Linked DNA regions of Homo sapiens: region 2 is linked to region 1. The links are contacts of gene promoters, found by promoter capture Hi-C in blood cells and fetal thymus (Javierre and others, 2016). All regions are on one chromosome and are shown on one strand. The core of a region is centred on a gene start or on the middle of the fragment in contact, and the rest is flanking DNA. Distances in the headings are between cores, read along the strand shown. Region 1 holds the start of BAIAP2L1 (BAR/IMD domain containing adaptor protein 2 like 1). Region 2 overlaps LMTK2 (lemur tyrosine kinase 2).

Region 1 (3,709 bases), core at 404-2,903:
GCACGTGCTACCATGCCTGGCTAATTTTTGTATTTTTAGTAGAGACGGGGGCAGGGCGGTTTCACCATGTTGGCTAGGCTGGTCTCGAACTCCTGACCTCAAGTGATCCGCCTGCCTTGGCCTCCCAAAGTGCTAGGATTACAGGCATGAGCCACCAAGCCCAGAGGTTTTAAAAAATCAGAATAAGACCTCTGCCCTTGTTGGGTGCGGGTCTCAGGTAGCTAAATGGTGGTTCTTACTGGGGAGAAGGCTGTCACCCAGCCCAAGGTACATAATCCTGGAAGAGAGGCCCAAAGAAGGCAGCTGCCTCACCCTTGGGCAGGGCTGAGGCCGGGATGGAGACAAAATAGGGAGCCCAGGAGCCACACACCTCCACAGAGTTTGAGTGATGACAAGAAGAGAGGCTTCCCTAACACTTCAGCTCAGGTGGTTTTCTAAACCCTACAACAATCTCGTGAGTAGCATGGTTACACTGCATTGAGTTAAAGGTCGTTGTTAATGTAAAGTTTAAAAATGTACTACTGGGCCGGGCGCGGTGGTTCAAGCCTGTAATCCCAGCACTTTGGGAGGCTGAGCAGGGCGGATCACCTGAGGTTAGGAGCTCGGGACCAACCTGGCCAACATGGTGAAACCCCGTCTCTACTAAAAATACAAAAAAATTAGCCTGGCTTGGTGGCACGTGCACCTGTAATCTCAGCTACTCGAGAGGCTGAGGCAGGAGAATTGCTTAAACCTGGGGGGCAGAGATTGCAGCAAGCTGAGAGAGCACCACTGCACTCCAGCCTGAGGGGACAAGAGTGAAACTCTGTCTCAAAAACAAACAAAAAGCTTCTATCTGGGGGCCAGGCAGGATGGCTCATGCCAGGCAGGAGAATCGCTTGAACCTGGGAAGCGGAGGTTGCAGCAAGCTGAGATCGCACCACTGCACTCCAGCCTAGGCGACAGAGTGAGACTCCATCTCAAAAAAAAAAAAGTACTAACATTTCGGTAACTAGACCCTGGCATTTATTAATTTTTTGATATATCAGGAGCTTTCAAAACTGCAAGTGGCAGCCCGTTTTCTCCACCTAGGAGGGCCGATGCCCCCACGGGTCCCTCTAACTTTTGGGGTCAGTGAGCGGCGGGGCAAGAAGAGATCAATCAGGGAAATCAATACAACTGGGGAATGTGGCCCCTTCCCTTGGTCCCCAAAACGCAGGGCTTGAAGGAAGCCCTCATGGAGGAAGTGGGCCTCGGGGTCCCCGGGGCCAGCACCACGCGAGGCAAACAAGGGCTCCAGGACCACAGTCTAAACACCCCCAGGCTGCCCTTGCCCTAGCAAAACAGCAAAGCGAGCAGCCCACTCCACACCGGTCCCCACTCCAGGGTCTCGGGCCCTACGTCGCCGGAGCTCTGGGAGAGCCGCGAGGGGGCGCACCGTGGCCTCGCTGCCCTGTCCGCCACAGGTGGGGTGACCCCGCCCACTCGGGGGGCCCGCTTCCCTCTGGCCACGCCCATTCCAGCTGCCTGGCCCCGCCTCCTCCCCGCCCACCCCGGCCGGGCCCCGCTCACCAGGCCGCCTCAGGTGGGTACGCCACGCCCCTCCGGCCCTGCGGCCCCGCCCCCGTCTGCCCCGCCCGCCTCAGGTGGGGCCGCCCGGCCCGCCCAGCTTCCTCTGGCGGCGTCCGGCCGCTTCTCCTCTGCTCCTCGAAGAAGGCCAGGGCGGCGCTGCCGCAAGTTTTGACATTTTCGCAGCGGAGACGCGCGCGGGCACTCTCGGGCCGACGGCTGCGGCGGCGGCCGACCCTCCAGAGCCCCTTAGTCGCGCCCCGGCCCTCCCGCTGCCCGGAGTCCGGCGGCCACGAGGCCCAGCCGCGTCCTCCCGCGCTTGCTCGCCCGGCGGCCGCAGCCATGTCCCGGGGGCCCGAGGAGGTGAACCGGCTCACGGAGAGCACCTACCGGGTAAGCCCAGGGCCCGGGGCTCAGGGAGGTCAGGGCTTTCCACCTCGGGGTTCAGAAGGGGACTTTACGCGGGAAGGTACTTTCCCTCCCTCCAGCTCCCCTCCCCCGCGTCCTTCCACCTCTCCCGGTCTCTCCCACTCCTCCCCTGGCCCTCCACAGCCCCTCTTCTTCCTCCCCTGGCCCTCTCCTTCCTCCCAGTCCCTCCCCATCCCCTCCCCCCTACTTTTCCTCCTCCTTCCCTCCCCTCCTCCCTGTGCTTCTTCCCTGTCTCTCTTTCCCGCCCCGCTGTACCTCTCCCTCTGCCCCTCCGCTCCCCGTTCACTCTCCCTCCTCCCCTGCCCCTCGACACTGTCCCTCCCCTCCTCCTGGTTCTTCCTTCTCCCCCGTGTGTCTCCCCCTCCTCCCCTGTCCCTTCTTCTCCCCAGTCTATCCCCCTCCCTCCCCCTCCCCCTCCCCCTCCTCTTGGTTCTTCCTCCTTCCCCGTGTGTCTCCCCCTCCTCTCCTGGCCCTTCTCCGCCTCCCCTGTCCCTTCTCCTCCCCGTCCCTTCTCCTCTTCCCTGACCCTCAGAGCTCTGGAGACCACCCCCCATCCCCTGACCAGCTACACATTTTACAACTAGTGCACTTAAGTTGGGGAGGGGTCTGTTGTGCGTCGGTGGGGCCCACGTCCTCCTCCCAACTTCTTGGAATCAGTGACCCGTGCTGTCCTGGCTGCCGGGCTTAAGCCCTCCGGGACCAAAGACACAAGCTCGAGTTTCCTCTAAGAAAAGAAAGCGCCCAAGAATGTGGGGGTGAAACTCCCCTGTAATTAGGATCGCCAGGTGAGCCGAGCTCTGGGCGTTCTCCCGGGAAACGCCCTCCTCCTTAGACCCTTCCTCTCCCACCTTTCAGTTGAACTTGGCTTTTATATATGGGTTATTTGGTGAGGTTCTTGAAGTCAAAGAACAACCGAGGTTTTAATGAAATTGACCTAACCTTAAGGAATGCGTTGATAGCCGGTCTCTTAACTTGCATGTATTAGGAGAGAATTTTTCCAGACACAGACAGAGACTTAGGATTAGTGGCCTGTTTAGTTTACATACTTACAAATGAATTCCAGGTGAAATAAGATATCTGTTAATCATCTGCTATTAATAGAACACAAAACAACTTTTGTTTTAATTCAGCCTAGGCGCTTCGAACCCTTGAAACTTTAACGTTCTCTAAGTTCATGTATAGGCATGTTTAAGGTTATAAATAAATGGTTGGTCGGTTGGTTGGTTGGTGTGTTTTATCTTTTTTCTGTCCCTGGTGCTTGAATCAGGAAGTTTAGTCATTTTGATAGACTTTTTTAAACCTAAAATTTTAGTTTCTGGGTTTTCAAGGTCTGAATTCCTAAAATCAGAGGAGTCTATTAACTTTTGTTGAATGAAAGTAAGAGAAGAACATGAACATTTTTGTTATGTATTGAAATCCAAGAGATCCGTTCCGTTTATCTTAACACACAAAGTGTATACTGTCACATATAAATTATGCCTTACAGGTAGGGAGAGTAGACACAGTTGACACAGCGTTTTTGATGCTCAGTCACTGTGACCAAAAACTCTTCTATTCGTGTGTTGCCTTCATAGAGGGCGATCTTTAGAAATTTGAGAAATTCGAAATTTGAGAAATTCCTACATTTGTATTGAGATTGCTACTATTTAAATGACCCGGAAGACGTTGCTGCATGAGGTGTGGGGTACTGACCAAGTGTGTAAATAAAACGTTCTTTCTGCCAGACTCAGAC
Region 2 (3,709 bases), core at 730-3,229, 200 kb after region 1:
GGGCTTTAAAAAATGGGATGTGGGGTGGGAGAATGACAAGGAGAGGCTGCAAGACCTCTCAGCTCCTCAGAGAGAAGCCTCATTTGCTGCGGCAAAGCCGCTTCATCAAGAAGAGACAAAAATGCATTCAAGTCCATCAACAAAACAGTGGTATTTTGGACTCAATGAAAATATTTCCTATATGAACATAAAACACTAACATTCAGAATCATTTATCATTTATGAAAGAGTACCATATGTACAATCCCAACAATCCTAGACACAGTAGAACACTCAAAATATTTAAGCTTCACAAGTACCATGCAGCGCAAACTATAAAACAGAAAAAAAATCAAACTAGTGGCTAGCATCGGCTTGACCTGCCTCATTCCCCTCGAATAACTGAAGATCCTGTACAACAATGGAGACTCTCGGAACATTTATCCACAGTGCAATTACAGAAAGCAGTTCGTGATTTCTCTAGAAATAATAAATATGGCTCACTGGTGACCATTCCCCTCACGTGTCCTCTGTGGTGCCCACACGTGCGCCGGGATGTGCAGGCGTGGACGCAGAGACGCCCCTGTGGAAAGCACACATGCGGTGCACACAGCTCCACACGCGCGCGCACATGGAGGCTGTGCCCCTGCCTCCCCCGACGGCCAGCGCATGAGCACTGCCTGGGAGGCCGCGGCCGCGGGTGCACGGGGCACTGAGGGACGCCGGCTCCTGGACACGGCCTCGCTCTGCACCTGGGCTCCCGAGGGCCCCGCCTTGAACGCAGCTAAGAGCCGTCTCCCTCTTCACCTCTGGATTCTTCCTCCCAATCTCATGTCAGCAAATGGCGAGTGGATGTCGCTGCTCGGGCTGAGGGCGCAGGGGCGCCGCTCCAGGGGAGCAGCCTCGGACCCGAGCGTGCGCGTTGGCAGCCACCTAGTCCTTTTCTCCGTCTTCGCTGCTTCCTGTTGAGGAGAGAGGAAGCGAGACGACAAAGCTGGGTTTTTAAAATGATCAGACAGGCATGGCGTGGATGGCATGTGCGCTGCACCACAGGAACGGAAGCGGGTGTTTTGAGCCCAGCACCGCCTGAGCCGCCCTTCCTGTCCTTTCCTTCGGAAGCAGCCCCTGCCTGACTCTCCCACATCTGCTAGGCTCAAATGCCCGCTGGGCGCTAAGGGTCAGGGTGCAGAAGAAGTCAGCTGGGATCCACACATCTGCCCCGACAGACTGGCAGATAGCAGGTGTTATCTAATCGGCACAAATGAAGCCTAGCGCCGAGGGAAATAAAGCCTCTTTGTATTCCATATTTATTATTTGATCTGTAAACTTCCAATCAAAAAATGAGCCTATTAACCTTTATCTTTCAATCTAGTGACGGGGAAAGAAGGCTCCCTATGTTCAGATACCTCGACTTCAAATGGCCCCTGCCCATTCACCCCACCCCGCCCTCGGGAGCCACACCAGGACCAAGACTCAGCAGCAAAACCAACATTCCAGGGGCAGCACCAGAGGGCATGTGGGCTGGTCCCAAGTCCAGGGGTCAAGTGCTCTTACGAGCCTGCTGAAGAGCAGGTTCTCTCTGGGAAAGGAGGAGACAGAGTGCGGAGGAGGGACTATGCAGCCACAGGAGAAAAAGAGGAGATGGCGCGCAGCCTGGGCGTTCCTGGGACCCAGAGCCCCTCTGCCTCAGCCTGGCCCCACAGGGTGGCCGGTAACGAGCCTGAGAGTGACCACAACAGGCAGGGGGCATGGCCCCGAGAGCACACTCAGGATGCTGGCAGTTTTATTTATTTATTTTAGAGGCAGGGTCTTGCTCTGTCACCCATGCTGGAGGGCAGTGGCACAATCATAGGTCACTGTAGCCTTGAACTCCTGGGCTCAAGCATTCCTCCCACCTCAGCCTCCTGAGTAGCTGAAGTGCAGGTGCACACCACCACATCCAGCTAATTTTTTAGTTTTTATTTTTTTTAGAGATGGGGTCTCACTATGTTGCCCAGGCTGGTCTCACACTCCCAGGCTCAACTGATCCTCCCACCTCAGCCTCCTGAGTAGCTGGGATTACAGGCAGGAGTCACTGCACCCAGCTGATGATGGGAGTTTTATAAAAACAAGTTTGTAATCTACTCAGCAAATGTGAAGAAGACATGAGATTATCAGGCCTGCAAAACCACCATCTCCCAGCTGCAGCGCCCCACCCCCGACCCTGCACTCCCAATCCCCAGCACGCAGCGCCTCTCACCGCCCTGCTCGATGTCCGAGTCGGTCAGGTGTGTGAGGGAAAAGCTGGCAATGTTGGCGGGAGAGATGGAGAACCGGGAGTAAGGCGCCGAGTGCGGCCAGCTCTGCTCCGTGCTCCGGGCCGGTGGCGGCGGAGAAAAGTACTTGGATGTTTGGAGAGAAGGCTTGGAGCTGAGCAGGTTACTTGTTGTCTTTGACATAAAAGGATCTGGGGAGAAGTCATCATCCCACTCAAAGCCACCACCTAGAAATAAAAAATAAAACCCCACCCTTTTTATCACTGCGTGATGAGGGAGAGGGGGAGCCTCTGGGCAGGTGCGCCCTGCAGGTCGGAAGACACAGCCCGGCCCGGCTGGCAGATGGCAGTTCTGTGCCCATGTCAGGGGGCGTCATTAAAGCAACATGGGAAGTTACCCTCAAAAAACCTTTACATTACTCAATTTTTCAGTTTCCTTTAAAACTAGACAATGACGTGAAATACCTTCTTCGTCGGTGGAGCTTTCGGAGTTGATGCACCTGCTCAGGTAGGGAGAGCCTGAGGCTGGGGCTGGGCCGCTCAGGTCCGGGCCGCACGCCTCTCCTCCACAGGGCCCCAGCTCTTTGGTTGGGGTCTCCTGAAAAGTCAAACAGAAACTCCTGTCAGCAAAGGCCTGCTCACGGGAACCCCCCGTGTGACCGCTTCCCCACTGGCAGGCGCATCAGACTCATCGACTGAGAAGTAAGCGTCTCAAGACAAGGGCGGCTCCAGGCCTGGGAGGACGGACAGACACTAGGCCCTGTCTCTCCCTCTGCCTGCAGCTCTGACCTCGGCAGAGGCATGAAGCAGCCCTCTGAGGCTGCAGAGAAGCGCAGAGCAGCAGGCAGGCGGGCACGAGCGGCAGTGCTCAAGGTGCCACCCACCAGCAACAAGTGTGTCGGCTTCTCCTCCACAATCCCCCGCCTGGACTCAGGTCAGCCCGGAATCCAAAGTGGGCACTGCCCTGGACACAGTGCTCCAGGAGAAGCCCTTGGTTCTGGCTTCGGAGCAGGAAGGGGGTCTTCTGATGCTCAGAAAGAGAAGGGGGAATTCCAGCTTTCTTCTTTTCTCTGTTCTCTTGCTCTCCAGTCTCAAGCAATCCTGGGGCAACAGCTGCCTATAATCCTGAGGGCCATGAAGCCTCCTCTCCACTGGAGGACTGTGATCACGAGCGGGAGGGGACCCTCGCTGAGTTTTTTTCCCTTCTGTCCTCCCACTGCTTGGCTCCAGATGCGCGTGCGATTGCAGGAAGTATGGCACATCGTGTAACTAAAGCCTCAACTTTCTAGCTAGGGGACCAGAAAGCAGAGGCCCAAAGAACTGCAAGTATCAGGGACATCACAGAAGAGGGAGGAGCTCAAAAAGGTGACCCGATGAAGTTGCTGGGGGGCTCCTGGGCTGTGTGTGGTAGATCTGACTCTGAACACACCCAAGCTTTGAAAATGAACCTCAGGGGAGACCGGGGTGGGGTGCGGG

The links. The method cuts DNA at HindIII sites, captures the fragments that hold promoters and counts their contacts. A CHiCAGO score of 5 or more calls a contact.
Region 2: a fragment that was not itself captured here is called in contact with the fragment with the promoter of BAIAP2L1 in region 1 in 1 of 17 cell types (total B cells); the score reaches 5.7 in total B cells.

What each region holds. Positions count from the first base shown.
Region 1 is chr7:98,399,034-98,402,742 of GRCh38, reverse strand. It overlaps BAIAP2L1 (BAR/IMD domain containing adaptor protein 2 like 1), which reads left to right and starts at 1,653. Exons shown (of 14, transcript NM_018842.5): 1 at 1,653-1,941. The coding sequence starts at 1,891. RefSeq lists a silencer at 1,320-1,979. The HindIII fragment of the contact is 3,647 bases long and covers 831-3,709 here.
Region 2 is chr7:98,202,696-98,206,404 of GRCh38, reverse strand. It overlaps LMTK2 (lemur tyrosine kinase 2), which reads right to left. Exons shown (of 14, transcript NM_014916.4): 12 at 2,699-2,831; 13 at 2,219-2,461; 14 at 1-941. The coding sequence ends at 913. Among named protein-coding and RNA genes, the nearest start is that of BHLHA15, 6.9 kb to the left of the region's middle. RefSeq lists an enhancer at 2,633-2,812. The HindIII fragment of the contact is 3,380 bases long and covers 290-3,669 here.